3 separate regions of the Homo sapiens genome follow, and all the other regions are linked to region 1. The links are contacts of gene promoters, found by promoter capture Hi-C in human tissues and cell types (Jung and others, 2019). All regions are on one chromosome and are shown on one strand. The core of a region is centred on a gene start or on the middle of the fragment in contact, and the rest is flanking DNA. Distances in the headings are between cores, read along the strand shown. Region 1 holds the start of GMPR (guanosine monophosphate reductase). Region 2 overlaps ATXN1 (ataxin 1). Region 3 overlaps ATXN1 (ataxin 1).

What was found. The method cuts DNA at HindIII sites, captures the fragments that hold promoters and counts their contacts. A contact is called where the count stands out against the background at its distance.
Region 2: a contact is called between a fragment that was not itself captured here and the fragment with the promoter of GMPR in region 1, in 1 of the 25 tissues and cell types used here (H1 embryonic stem cells).
Region 3: a fragment that was not itself captured here is called in contact with the fragment with the promoter of GMPR in region 1 in 1 of the 25 tissues and cell types used here (mesendoderm cells).

What each region holds. Positions count from the first base shown.
Region 1 is chr6:16,236,385-16,241,415 of GRCh38, forward strand. It overlaps GMPR (guanosine monophosphate reductase), which reads left to right and starts at 2,203. Exons shown (of 9, transcript NM_006877.4): 1 at 2,203-2,396. The coding sequence starts at 2,310. RefSeq lists silencers at 1,986-2,085, 2,206-2,305. The HindIII fragment of the contact is 5,881 bases long and covers 1-3,855 here.
Region 2 is chr6:16,482,106-16,487,136 of GRCh38, forward strand. It overlaps ATXN1 (ataxin 1), which reads right to left. Exons shown (of 8, transcript NM_001128164.2): 6 at 3,867-4,004. Among named protein-coding and RNA genes, the nearest start is that of GMPR, 250 kb to the left of the region's middle. The HindIII fragment of the contact is 4,617 bases long and covers 1-4,606 here.
Region 3 is chr6:16,409,248-16,414,278 of GRCh38, forward strand. All of the region lies in intron 6 of ATXN1 (ataxin 1), which reads right to left. Among named protein-coding and RNA genes, the nearest start is that of GMPR, 170 kb to the left of the region's middle. RefSeq lists an enhancer at 4,867-5,031. The HindIII fragment of the contact is 4,193 bases long and covers 980-5,031 here.

The DNA of each region.
Region 1 (5,031 bases), core at 953-3,452:
TGTTCCAGAGGGAGAGGGAATGGAATGTGTAAAATGAACTTCTCTGTCTATTCTAATAAAAGGAGGGCTAGCCAGAAAGAAAGAGAACCAGAGGGAAAGAGCAAGGACAACCTACAGAAGCTTCTCCTTTAAGACCATGTATGAAACAATGAATAAAGCCCTCATCCACGCTGGCAGATGCTTAACAAGGTCAGTTTCTCTTCCCTTTAAGGATAATAATTTAAAAATAATCATACCATCTAGTAATTATATTTTACCTCTATTTAATCTTTAAAAGATCAGAATTAGGTTTCCTTTCCGTACTTCACAAATAAGCAGCACATCTGGCCAGCTCCCAAGAATTCGTCAAGGGTTATAAACATTGCATGGGCTGGACTAATTGTGGCTACTTTCATTCTCTCTGATAAGTTTCATTTCCTTCCCTGAAACTTCATGAACTTCCTTTGGGGTATAGCTAATGAAACCATGTGGGATGGGCTGAGACCTTTATCATCTTCAGACATTTGTGTTAAATTGAATATTGTGATGTATCTTTTATGGTCAGCCTTATCACATGCTAGCTCAAGGAGAACAGTTGCTAGCTCAGTTCGAGGCTGCAGAAAAATGGAAGAGAATGAAAGATGATTCTTGCCTTTGTGCAGTTAGCATTCTAGTTTGAAAATACAAACACAATGCACATAATGTAACATGTGACTACAAATCTGTAACTACCATGCATTGAGCAACTACTATGGGACAGACATTGTGCTTACATAAACACACACACTTTAATTCTCACAAAAACCAGGGAGGAGATAGGGTTAACCCCCCCTCCTGCCCCCACCCCTTTTATGAGAAAACTGAGACTTAGAGAAATTGACTCCCCTAAGGTCACCTAGCTAGACAGTGGTGGAACCAGGTTTCAAACTCAGGCAGAGATGTTCCAGGACAAAAGCAGCTTCAGTGAATAGTTGTAGCAAGTTTTAAGGACTGAGAAATTTATATTGAATTTTTCTGCGGCCTTAGGCAAGTTATTTCATTTATAGAAGCCTCGTTTTTCCTTATCTGTGAAATGGCTCTTTCTTCATTGGGTTGTTCTGAGAGTGAATGAGATGATGCATGAAGCCCGGCAGCACATTTCAAATGTATAATAAAAGGTCGGTAAGGTCAATAAGTGAATCAATGAACTCACATCACTGGTAACCCCTCGAACTCACATCACTGGTAACCCTCAGAGGGGACTCAGGCTCCTCAAATCTCAGGATCTGCGTCGACTACAGACCTCACTGTTTTTCTTAAACAAAAATCCTGAAATCCAGGCTGGGCGCAGTGGCTCACGCCAGTAGTCCCAACACTGGGAAGCTGAGGCGGGAGGATTGCTTGAACCCAGTAGTTCAAGACCAGCCTGGGCAACACAGTGAGACCTTGTCTCTTAACAACAAGTCCAAAGGGAATCATGGCCTCCACAATCCCAGTACAGCTAAACAGTTAACTGCCCACGTTCTTTTCCTTAATTCTATACAACCTCCCTGGGGTTTCTGGTTCTTTGGCAAGTGAGAGACGTGCTCCTCAACACTGGGTGAGCACACCGGGCTTGAATTTTAAAAAAGGAGAATCCGCCGGGCACGGTGGCTCACGCCTGTAATCCCAGCACTTTGGGAGGCCGAGGCAGGCGGATCACTTGAGGTCAGGGGCTCGAGACCAGCTTGGGCAATATGGTGAAACCCCGCCTCTAGGAAATAATTTTTAAAATAAGCTGGGTGTGGCGGCGTGCGCCTGTACTCGAGGAGGCTGAGGCATGAGAATCGTTTGAGCCCAGGAAGTCGAGGCTGCGATGAGCGGCGATAGCGCCACTCACTCCAGCCTGAGCGACAGTGAGACTGTCTCAAAAAAAAAAAAAAAAAAGTAAAAGCTCTCAGGGAGCGACTTTTCCCTTGGATAAGGCAGCCACACGCTAAGTCCCCTCTCCATCGGGGACCCTGGGGACAAACAGAACGGTGCGCATTTCCCTCCCCCGTCCCCATTCGGTCACTGCCACGGGCTGTACACCTGAGGGGGAAGGACGGGGGCGGCGGCGCGAGGAGGAAGGGCTTCGCCGCCAATCTGTCCCTAACCAGTCTGCCTCTCAACCCCTGCCTGAGGCGGAGGCGGTGCCCGGGGCGGGCCAAGCGTGACCGCGGGTCGGCGGGGCGTGTTTAAGACCGCGGCGTGCGCACCCGGCCCACGCCAGCTCCCGGCCGCGGCACAGCAGCCCCGGCGCTCCCCGCGCCGCCCCGCGCAGGCGCCCCCGCCCCGCCGTCGCCGCCGCCGCAGCCAGGAGCCGCTGCACCATGCCCCGCATAGATGCGGACCTCAAGCTCGACTTCAAGGATGTCCTGCTCCGACCTAAGCGGAGCAGCCTCAAGAGCCGAGCCGAGGTGGGGGACGTTCGGAAGTCGCAGTGGGGTGGGATTTTTTTTTCCGGGTGGCGCGGGGCAAGTGGGTGGAAGGGGGTGGCACCGGGTTACCCTGCCTGCTTTGGTGTTTGAGACTGGGGCGCTGCGCCCCCGTTCCCGCGCCCCAGCACCTGCCAGGACGTGAGGTGTCTTTAAGGGCGGTGATACGGGGGCCCATGAAATTCTCTACACGTCGGTCCCGTTGGGTGGCCTAGGGGAAGTTCACAGTGAAACTCGACCACAGATGAGCGAGATCCAGTGGCCAGTTGGTTTAGAAGGAATAGGGGTACGAGGGCGCTTATAGCAAGAAAAGGAAACTGGAGCTAGGGGAGAGAGGACGAGAAAAACAACTGCAGATCCCGGTGATTTTTGGCTGCGTCTCCTAGTGCTGATAATTGCTGCTGCTTTCGCTTCGGGTCCAGCGGTGGAACTTCGTGAACGCGTCTGAAAAACCAGAACCCAGGGCACAAGTTCAGGGTTTCCTTTCTGAGTTTGGCGGCCTTGCTGGCAGTGGGGCTTGGGGACTCAGCGGTACTGGACAGCCCGCGGTCCCAGCCTAGCCCTGGAGAAGAGTTTCGAAAGCTTTGGGGTGAGAGAGGTGGGGGCGAATTGGAAGCCTCGGGCATTTCCCTGGTTCTGCCTGGATGTCCTCAAATCCTAAGGAACAGGTGGAGACCGGACTGGAAATAGCCTGAGGCTGGGGGAAGGGAGGCCAGTCCCTGAAGGATAAACTAGTTGCCTGAAAGGCAGAGTGCCCCGGGGTGGTGTGCGCTGGTGACTGGCTTTGCTGAGAGCTGGAGAGGAAGGTGAGGAAACCGGACACGGTTGAAGGCTGGGGCTGAAGGAGTAAACACGAGGAGGCTGGGCCAACCTGCACAGCTCCGTCCACTCAGCTCCACAAACAAGACCATAAATAAATCCCCTCAGCAAAGAAGTCCGCTGCCCACTCCGGTGCCAGGCCTAACTGCAGTGCCTGGGGCTGCCAGCCGAGGGCTTGCTTGGATTGGGGAAGCCTCCGCGTTAGCCAATGACTAAACCAAGTGGCCTTCTGTAAGCAGCAGCATTGGCTGGTTTGGAGCCCGGCAGGACTGGAGGACGTAGGGGAGGAATGATTAAAACTTATCGCCCCAGATTGGGTGACCCTGTGCCTGTCCCTCATGACCTTTCAGGTGCTAAAGAGGGGGCCTCTCTTGGAACAAAAACAGTTTGGAGGGCAGGCCTGGGCCTCTGGAAGCATGAGCTGTAGCCAATTCCTAAGGCAAGACCAAGATGAAATAGGGGGATTCTGGATGTGCTAATAATTTGGTGGCCTCAATATTCTTTAAATATTCAAAATGTATTTAGAAGAGAGAAACTCATTTTTCAGAAAATTGGATGTTCAAAACAAAGATATACCTATTTTCTGAACCAGAAAACATGTTGAGAAGGTAAAATATTGAACATTAATGTAATAGGGCCAGGCACAGTAGCTCACACCTGTAATCCCAGCACTTTAGGAACCTGAGGTGGAAGGATTGCTTGAGGCCAGGAGTTCGAGGCCAGCCTAGGCAACAAAGCAAGACCTCAGCTCTACAAAAATTTAAAAAATCAGCCAGGGCAGTTGTGCACACCTCTAGTCCCAGCTATTTGGAAGGCTGAGGCGGGAGGATGGCTTGAGCCCACGAGCTGGAGATTACAACAAAAATTTAAAAAATTAGGGCAGTGGTGCTCACCTGTAGTCCCAGCTACTTGGAAGGCTGAGGCGGGAGGATGGCTTGAGCCCAGGAGCTGGAGGTTACAGTGAGCTATGATGGTGCCACTGCACTTCAGCCTGGACAACCCTGTCTCTAAAGCTAAAATGAAATTTATGTAATAGAATGAATTACTCCTTCTCGGGGAATACTATCACATCATGCGACAATGTCATGCAACACTTGGCTTCATAATTTGGGCAGATTGTAACTAATGTTCCAGTTTGGGATAGCATCTTTGCAATCTTCATGTACACATTGCAGTGAGAACTCAGTGCCCTTGAGGAGTCTCTTTTGTATTTTTATGTTCGTGGGAGTTTGCCAGCCACGGGCCTGGAGACTCAGGTTAACCAGCATTGCCTTTCTAATCGGTTGCCGTGATGGTTTAGCTCCCTGATGCGTGAGGCTGCTGCCTGGCTGGCCACCCCCATGATCTGACTTTACTTGCCTCGGTGGCGTTGAGGGATCTAGTTAGGCCTCCCTAATCCCCTCTCAATGTTTTCTCAGTTTGCTTGTTGATGCCTGAAATTTTTCACAGGCAGATAAAAACTTTTCCTTGCACAATCAGAAGCTTAAAATATGTGCATCCTGGCAGAAGTAATATCTGGAGGCAAATTGGAAACTGAAGGGTAGATGACCGACATTGAGCCTAACAGCAGATTTGTACAGAGCCAGGAAAGAGAACGTACACCCTGGGAGTAGAGTCTGGCTGAGGGAGGAGGGTTTTGACAGCTGATGATGGGCTTATCCTCGTGACAGTTTTGCTAAGAGCCAGGCCCAGCAATGGATCATCAGGCTATAGCAGGAAACGGACAGTAAGAGTGATCTCCCCCTCAGAAGCTTCAGGACTCCTGCAAGGACATTTCCACCAGCCTTCCATAAATGAA
Region 2 (5,031 bases), core at 1,048-3,547, 250 kb after region 1:
CTTCCCCACACCCTTAAACTGCTATCAGATTCAAGCATTCTCATCAGAACAGCATGTATGTTCCTTTTCCTAATGGCTCAGGCCCACACATGAGAGGCATTCACTTAGTGAATGTCATTTAGGCATTCACTCAATGAATATTTACTGACTGCCCATTATGGGAACAAGCAGTATTTTAGGTACTATTCATTCACCAGGGAAGAATAAGAATGAGAATAAGGATAAGAATACCATCCCTCCTTTTGCAGAGCTTGCAGACTAGTTGAGGAGACTGATGATTAACAAATAAATATATAATATGTAAGGTGCTTAAAAGAAAAACACAGAAGGCTAGAGGACTGAGAGGGATGGGGTGGATGCTATTTTATGTAGATCAGGGAAGGCTGCTTTGATAAGGTAACTCAAGAATTCCTACTTAAGGAAGCAGAGAAGCTTAGGAATGAAATATGGATCACTTTCTCCTTGCTTAGACTCTAACCAATATTTGAGCACAGAGGTGGTTTTAGAAAACTCAAGTTCAAAAATCGTTCCTGTTTATTTTCAAAAGGACCAATGAGTGTGGACCCTAAATTTAAACAGCTAAAGCTATAGTCTAAGGACAGTCTCAAATAAATACCTTTGAATTGTCATATGGTGCCCAGGAGGGTCTTGTGGAAAGGGTTTCATGGTAGTGAAAGATGTAATAACTCTTTTTTTCTTTTAACCCTAAGACTGTGCTCAATGTTTTAAAAACAGTTGTAAATGAGGTAGTGCCAAATCATTGATTTTTAGGAACCCAAGAAGGTAAAATAAACGTTCAATTGGCCTCATCTAAGGCTGATACTTTATGCAACTTGAGACACTTAGGGTAAAAACCACCACTGGAGGTGATTTAACTCAATTTTCTCAAGTTGTCCATCATAAAATGAGTCCCCATGGTAGAGAGGACCCAAGGTTATATGGCTAACAACAGCATTGTGCATAAAATCCAGGTCTGCTAACTCTGAGTTCAGTGTCAGCATCATTCTCTTCTTGTACAAGATCCCCCCTCCCCCCAGCCCTTACAGCCAGTCTGAAACATCTTCAGGGGCAAAGGCCATCTGCTGGCAAGTGGTGGCAGATTTGAGAGGCAGTTAATGGGACATGCACAGGAATGAATGCCAGGAGTAACATCTGCAAGGACTGCTGAGCATGGGAACCACTACTTCCAATGGCTGCTGTGATTATCACTCACACATTTATACACCCACTCCTAGACCCTGTTTATGTGCAAACATGCATTCTTTGAAAATTGCCTGCCTTCTCTACTGCAACAGTTCTCCATGGCACAGGCTTTGGGGCATGCAGGACACTAAACCCAGGAAGACAGAAAACCAGTGTTGTAAACATGTGCCCAGATAATGAAAGGTTACCAACATCACAGTTTACTAAGAAAACTAGGAACCCCCCACTGCCCCTACCAAGCAAATGCGGTTTTGAAAAGAAAGTACTTAGCATGCACAAAGAGTTCACTAGAATTTGGTATTTCCTTGCTCTCTCAACACACTCCATTTACAGAAGGATTTTAAAATTACTTCAAGTCTGCCATGTGGCATCTTAAAGTGTACACTTCAGAAGTCCTTTGAAAACCTCACTCAATCTTTGAGGTCTGACAGGGTGTCACATGAACAGTTCAAAGCAACGGTTAAAACAACAACAAAAAACCCCCACTAGATTTGAAACAAAAGCTATCTTGATTATGGTAACTGCATGAGTTATTTAAATAGAGCCTGAAACCTAAAGCAGTTTTACATAAGACACTTGTTTCCTAGGATAAAAATGCTTTAAAAAATACCACCAGAAGTGCATTCTAACAGTTACCTGATTGGGAAAATGATTTCTAGTAAAACACACTGTAACTGGAGTACCCAAATCTAACATGGCCCACAATTATTCCTTGATAGTGACAGAAACTTTTACAATAAGGTTTTTTTTAAAAAAATAAGTAAAATAGTGCTTTCACAATGCTCTTCCCCTTATGAGGACCCTAAACCAAGATGCTGATTGCTTAATAAAAAGGTAGTATGGGCTGGGGATGGTGGCTCATGCCTGTAATCAAAACATTTTGGGAAGCAGAGGCGGGAGGATCACTTGAGCTCAGTAGTTCAAGACCAGCCTGAGCAACATGGTGAAACTCTGTCTCTACCAAAAATACAAAAAATTAGCCAGGCATGGTGGTGTGCACCTGTGGTCCCAGCTACTCTGAAGGCTGAGGTGGGAGGGTCACTTGAGCTTGGGAGGCAGAGGTTGCAGTGAATCGAGATCTTGCCATTGCACTCCAGCCTGGGTGACAGAGTAAGGCACCACCTCAATTAAAAAGAAAAAAATGAAAATAAGGTAGTATGAAGCAATACACAGACTTGCAAAATATTGTTTTATGGGGGCTCGCGACTTGCCCAAGGTTGCCAGTGTACTTGATCTCAACAGTAGGAATAGGATTCAGGTCAGCTGATTCCAGGCTGACTGATTTCCACTAGACCCAACGTGTACAGAATGGAAACACAATGAAGCTTCAGTGTCTCCCACTGTCTGCTTTCAATGAAGCACTGGGAAAATTTGAATTTAATAAGCTCATATTAATATTACTGATTATTTAACCCTGAGGAGATGATATGGATACATATGCATATTTTAATACAAATGTTTAGAAATCTATGAAACCAAAAAAATTAGGAACATTTTTTTTCCTTGTCAATACTTTTCTCCCTGATATATGCTACACTTTGCTCTTTACAAATCTTGTAGGCAACTGCAAAAAAAATAGGTAATACATGTTCAAAAAAGTTTTCTGGCTGAGTTAAGAAGCTGGAAACCTAAATATATATGTGTGTGTGTGTGTGTGTGTGTGTGTGTGTGTGTGTGTGTGTGTACACGCACACACATACATAAACAAGAGTATACATATATATTACAGAAATATATGTATTTATATATACACAAAAACAACAACAAAAACCTAGAAGAAATTGGCTTGTCATTTCCTAAAATTTGAAGATAATATCTTCTCGTCCTCAGAGGTATTCATAGGCCATCCTGGGTTTCATGTAGCTATTTTCTTTCCTGGTCAAAATCTCCTAACTGTGTTTTGTGACACAGTCCAGCAACAAGGTAAATTCTCTAGAAAGTAGGAGGGCTGAGCACCTTTGCATTATTTCCTAGTGGAAGGGCTCCCTGAAGTCACACTATGTCATCTCTTCCATTACCTGACACTAAAACTTCTCATGCAAGGCGGCCATCAGGTGACATGTGGGAACAAACTTTACTAATCTCAAAATCCCAAGCCAGTAACTGATCAAAACCAGTAAATCAGCTCATTTTAAGTAAGGGAAGCACCAAACATAACTGCTTGTAACTTGCATACCTCAAGATTTTACAAGCCAGAGAGAAAAATGTCATTTTCATCAACTGCACATACAGAAGAATAATTGCTGGATGGAAACTCTGATTGCTAATCCTTAGCCTGGAGAATTTTACCCCCTACTCACCAACCTAAAAGAACTGCAACAGCCCAGTTTAAAGGGGCTGCTCTAAATCTGATACTATTTGACTGTACCAGTAGAAAAGGTGTTCCTACAATGAAAGAATCACTGTATTCCATCCTTTTATTCCTGAAGTAGATAGTTTGCAGCATGCCATAGAAGCCGAGAGAAAGGCAAGTTCCAGCAAATACAAACAGGACCTCTTCCCTTAAAAAATTAAATTCCCTTCCAATTAAAAAAAGAAATTAATTGGACGATCACCTAGAGCTCATGCTAATACCCCTTCAACACCTGGCTCGGTTACATCAAGTGATTCATGAATCCTACAAGGCAAGCCACTACACATATTGTTCTTGGTTGTTAACTTACAACATTCACTGCGTACTGTTCACAGGTAGCCTCAGCCTATACTTCACCATGGAGACTTCCCACAGGCTCTGGAGGGCTCCTGAGGGCTCTTGGGCTCAGGCGTGTTCTTTCTTCCTTTCACAGAGAAGTGAGAAATACCTAGCATGGAAATAGAACAGAAGAAAAAGAAAAAGGTAAACACATCATCAAATCACTTGTTATCTGAACAAATACAGTCTCACGACCAATTAGACGAATTGATAGTTCACCAAAGACCATTTTCTTAAAAAAGAAGTTCAATGTTCTTGCTCTTTTCCCAAAAAGAACACAACATGGTACAGCCAGCCTCTCCTCACCCCAAAGTTGAAGCCATTTCTGGGAGACTTCAGACACAATCTTAGCTGAGATGCAAACTTGCAAAAGCCTCAAAACAGGCCACTTGGCTTTACTCTTCTGCAAAAGGAGGCAAGGACTAGCACCTTCTGCCACTGTCATATCTTACTGGGTCATGGAGAAGATCAAGAAGATCATTCTTGCAAAGCACACACAGTTCCCGAGAAGAAATCCACTATGTTAATGCAAAGCGTTGTTGGTGGTCATAAGCCTGTTCCTGAGCTCTGGAGCCAGAATACAAAAGCCAGCACTGGTAAGGCACCAATCATCAACTATCCCGGGAGCATCCAAACGTCTGCATGCCCTACTGTGCTGAGTTTCAGGAAAGAATAGGAACAGAAACGAAGAATCTGGAATCTCCGGGAAAAAGAAAGTGAAGGCATCACGCAGGAAGCTAGGAGAAAGAGTGTAAGGTGGGCAGTAGGGCACATGCAGGAGCGTGGTTATTTGGTACACGGCTCCCTCAGATTGCTGGTTTGCAGCGTTTCGTGCACTGAATGTTTGCGACACTGTGAAATTTTCCACTTGGCTGTCTGCCATTTCCGCCCACCGAAGACAACACTTACACCCACCAGAGTGGCACAGCGAGGCCCTGCTGGAAAAGGATTGGATAACTTTTTGTTTATTTGCTGTTGCTTTTAATGAAAAGACTTATTCATATCCTGATCATTAATATTTTCCACACCTGGATTTCTTGATTTTTTTCCCCCTTTCAAGGCTGACCCAGGAACAGCTTCTCCTGGAACGATACTATCAACTTATTTCGCCTTGTATACTTTTGAGAAGCACACTT
Region 3 (5,031 bases), core at 1,826-4,325, 170 kb after region 1:
TGCTCTGTTCCACACAATTGCCTTAGCGTCTGTCCTCTTTATGAAACTAAAAAAAAAAAACCACAGTAACTGTAGTTGTTATGAGCACCAACATTTTAAGTCTAATTAAAAATTTGACTTGCTGGCCAGGCACCGTGGCTCATGCCTCTAATCAAAGCACTTTGGGAGGCAGAGGCAGGTGGATCACTTAAGGTCAGGAGTTCAAGACCAGCCTGGCCAACATAGTGAAACACTGTCTCTACTAAAAATACAAAAATTAACCTGGCGTGGTGGCTCACGCCTGTAGTCTCAGCTACTCGGGAGGCTGAGGCAGGGGAATAGCTTGAACCTGGGAGGTGGAGGCTACAGTGAGCTAAGATCGTGCCACTGCATTCCAGCCTGGGCAATAGAGTAAGACTAGGTCTCAAAAAAAAAAAAAAAAAAGAACTCGACTTGCCGTTTATGCAATTTCAAAAGCTGGCTTTTGTAGGTCTAAAATTGTTGTAAGACAATTTTAAAAGCTTCCAGACGTGCAGAATCTGGGGCTCTTCTTTGCCCCCCACCCCACAGCCTCACATGTCTTGGTTTGCGGCTTTTAAACAGCGAGTTCTAGAGAAGTTCCACAAAACTGTGCTCCACCTGCTGGCCTTCTGGGGAAGCTGCGTCTGGGCTGATGATGCTGGTTGCGGGTTGAGCGAAAACAAGGAACAGATTTGAGTTTGTCCAAAGCATGCTTGGTACTTGAAAATTAACCCTTCAAGACTGGGCATGTGTCCAGTGATGCTCTGAAGCTGGCAAAGATGAGCATCAAATCACCAGACGTGCATGGAGAGCATGAGCTGAACGACCGTCGTGATAGGCTTGGCAGAGGATGAAGCAGAGGGTGGCACCGGAGCCCTACCTGGGTGCTGGCACTGCCTCGGCCTCTTGCTTACTATGACGCCGTGTGAATCACAGCATCTAGCGGCCCTCCTTCCCCCTTACTATGACTTCCAATTTTGAAATACTGTGACTCTGCTGTGTACTTAATTGACATCTCTTTCTGAAGGAATTTACAATCCAGTTGATGATGTAAGACCCACTATCATAAGCCAATTAGAGAACCAAACAAGTGCTGAAGGGACCCCTATGGAGGCAGAGAACCTGAAATGAACAGTGAAGACTAAATCTGACTTACAAAGGTGAGGAGCAGGGAGTACATTTCTTTCCTAATGCTTGCACTGGGATTTCTGACGAATACCTCAGAGGCTATGTTGGGCTTTTTCTGATGTAGCGATATTTTGGAGATTATGGTTCAACCAGTGATTTGTCTAAACCTGTTTGAGGATTCTTTCTAACATATCATTCCCTTCCCTACATAAAGATAATATGCAAAAAATCCAAAAGGGTGCAATCATTTGTTTTACTAGAATCTTCTTTATGTTCTAAAGTCTTAATCATGCATTTCTTTCAAATTGTGAGCCTCCAATGAACTACAAGCTTGTCAGAATTACATCTATTCAGGTCATATACAACATCCGTGGAGCAAAGTGAATTTGAAGTTAAGTCTCCTCTTAGTGTAGCAGTACGTATTTTGAATGAGAACGGCCAGTGCTAAAGATGGAAAATAGGTGGGTGGCCAGGCACAGTGGCTCACGCCTGTAATCCCAGCTCTTTGGGAGGCCAATGCAGGCGGATCACTTGAGGCCAGGAGTTTGAGACCATCCTGGCCAACATGCTGAAACCACGTCTCTACCAAAAATACAAAAATTAGCCGTGTGTAGTAGCACATGCCTGTAGTTTCAGCTACTTGGGAGGCTGAGGCAGGAGAATTGCTTGAACCTGGGAGGCGGAGGTTGCAGTGAGCTGAGATCACACCACGGCACTCCAGCCTGGGTGACAGAGTGAGACCTCTGTGTCAAAAAAAAAAAAAAAAAAAAGAAAAGAAAAGAAAAGAAAAAGATGTAAAATAATTTGAAAACAAAAGCCTAAAGATGCTTGCTGAAATCAGCTATTAGTCTGTTCTCTTCAGGAAAATGACATATTATGCATAATTAATAATAATAATAACATAACTAATTTTATGTCTTATTGACTCTAAGGTATGGCTATCTCTATTTACTACTACCTCATATGACTTTAATATTGATATTGAATTAAAGTCAGTGCAAGATCTGTAGTACATTAGTAAGTATGCAAAAATGGGAAATTGAAGCCCTGTTTATAGGTGGTACTCAGAGAAGGCCCAGGGTTGTTGGTGCCAACTGGAAAAAGTTTATATCTGATTATATTAATAGCAACATTGATCTGGCATTTTGCCCTGGCATAGTTTTTTACCTTCTTGAAGGTTAAAAAAAAAAAATCTCCCTGGCTGCATCAGGATTTAAGACATTGGGGAGAAAGAAAGGATAAAGAGGGAACAAGGGCAAAGATGAGGATCATTGAAGACGTTCAAGGATAATTAAACTTCTGCCCATAGCTGGCCTGGGGGAGAAATGAATGTCACCGTAGTATGGATGTGGCTGGCTCACAGTGTGAAGAGAGAAGACCTTGTTTCCAGTCATTCACAGCCCTGTTGAGATATACCTTCATGCCTAATTCCTTCACCCTCTGAAGTCCAACATTATTTAATTGATAAGATATGCCACATATCATCTTGTCCTTTGTGTTTAAGTTGTTCTTATTAATATGTATGTCTTATCTCCCTTAGTAGATTGTCAGCTTCTTGAGGTTATCTTGAATGTTTTAACTCAGCTCTCTCTCTCGCACTATCTTGCTTAGGGAAGACACCCAATAAATATTAGTTGAAGACATGACCAAGTGCATGAAGTACTGTATAGGCTTGCTAAATAAGGGCAGTAAAAATGCCATTGGATCTTGTAGGCAAATTCTGAGGTTGTAACGGATGAAATTAATATAAATGTTGATTCACTGAATTGTGAACTATAGAATATGAACCCTGTCAATAGGAGAAACCTTTCTAAAAGCCTTCTTCTTTGTTGTGCATGTTTTTAGGGATTCAGTCCAGAACTTTCACCCGGAAACTCAAAACAAGAAATTTAGTTTGAAATAAATCAGGTCTTAACAAGTGAGAGACTATTAAGATTAACAGACTGTCTTGGACAGCCTCCTGCGTGTCCCTTATCATCTAAAGGGTTACTACTAGACTACATCCTTTTCTGCTTTATCTCAGAGGCCCATTAAAGCATGTAACCAGACTGCTCAGATTCATACTATACTAATTTTCTCTTTCCAAAAGAAACCAAACAACAAAATAAAACTCCACCAAGTGACTAAACTAAATTCAAATATCCATACAATTCTATCCACGGCAACAGCGTCAGTTTCTCAGAAATTTCATTGCCAGGCTCCCCCACTTCAATGGACAATAGAAGAAAATGTGCCTCAATGTCGCAAACTTCAGTGCCGCTCAAGGAGCTAATTAAATCTCCTAGGATGCCCTCACCCACACCCTAAGAAATTTGAAGGGTACGCAAAATCCAAACTCAATTCAACACCATTAAAATAAAAGGCCTTTACATATAAAGCTTAATCTTGACTTTCTTTGTCCTTTTCTCCCCACAAAGTAGTAGATTTCCAAATTCCCCAAAGGTCATGAGTTTGGCAATGGAACAATGGCATCCCCAGAGTGACTGCCTTGGGGAGAGAGTTTGCTCCTCTCTTGGCCATGCCGTGGGGGCTGTTGTCTCTCTTGGGAGCTGCAAGCATCATCAAAGTGGATGAGGGCTGGCCACAGCAAGAAGTATGGTCTCTGTCCTATAGTTTTCTAGTGTTAGGGTGATGAGGTCTCTATCTATTCACAAGAAGAAAAAGAGTCATCCTAAACCATTCCCAAACTATGTTAGAAATGAAGAAAGGGGAAGGGAAATAGCACTTGCTGAGCACTTCGTTTAAATGTGCCAGTCATTATGCTGCATATTTTATATTTAATCCTCACACAACCCTACAAAGTAGAAATGATGACTCTATTTAAAGACAAACTGAAACTCAAAAGAACTTCCTCGAAATGATACAGTTAGCACATTATGGATGCAGAATTCAAACCCAGGCCTGTCTAGTTCTTAAATCCGTGTTCTTCCCATATACCATGCTGCCTCTCAAAAGGAAACACTGTTTTTGTTTTTTTTTTAAGGTACAAATATAGTTTGTGCATTTGGAAGAAGATGCGGCTCGGGACCCATTCTTTTTGTTATAGGCTTGTGCTATAAACATCCATCTTACTCTTAGTTTGACCTTTGTGCCGTGGGCTCATGTCTGTAATACAGGAACCCAATCATTTCTGAAAGTCTGTCTAACAGTGATATTGTGTGCAGCAAATGTTTAATGAATGGATGAGTGAATGTGAATCAATGGGTGGGGGAATAAATAAATAAATGAATGAATGAAAGTGAAACTGACGAGCCCATACTGGGACTGAATCGGCAATGTGGGCCTCCTGAAAGCACTGCATGTTAATCACTACTTTTTTGAGCTTTGTGACATGATGTTTGGGTGTCTGGAGAAAAATCCTGTGTGGTGGTGGTCTGGGCTTTTTTACTGACGCAATGGCCCACCTGATATAATTTTGATTTCCATCAGCCACTAAACTTAGCCTGAAGACAAAATTTCCTTTGAAAGGATTCAGCTTAGGGGAACAGATAATAAGGAGGTGGTTATTTGGGGAAACAAGAGTTACTTTACATTCCTATAACATATTTCTAAAAATGAAACATTCTCAAAGCTGGAAAGTAAGGAAAATCAAACATTGCTCTACTTGGGGTTTTGAAAATGGAACATTGATTGTTTGTAAAAGTGATGCTTAATTTGGAGGATAAGAAGCGAACTTCTTTCTATAGCCTCAAGGAGCTAATTAAAATGTGACACGGCAGTGATTATATACTTAGAGGTATCGATAGGTCCTCATTTTTCCACAGCACAGATAATCTCACGCCAGCTCTCACCTATATTAAGTGTTAGACACTTGGTACAGGAACGGATTTCTGCTCTTCCCTATCTCTCACTGTTCAGGGACCTTTGGTCAGTTCCTCAGCATATTGTACCCTAAATGAGGTG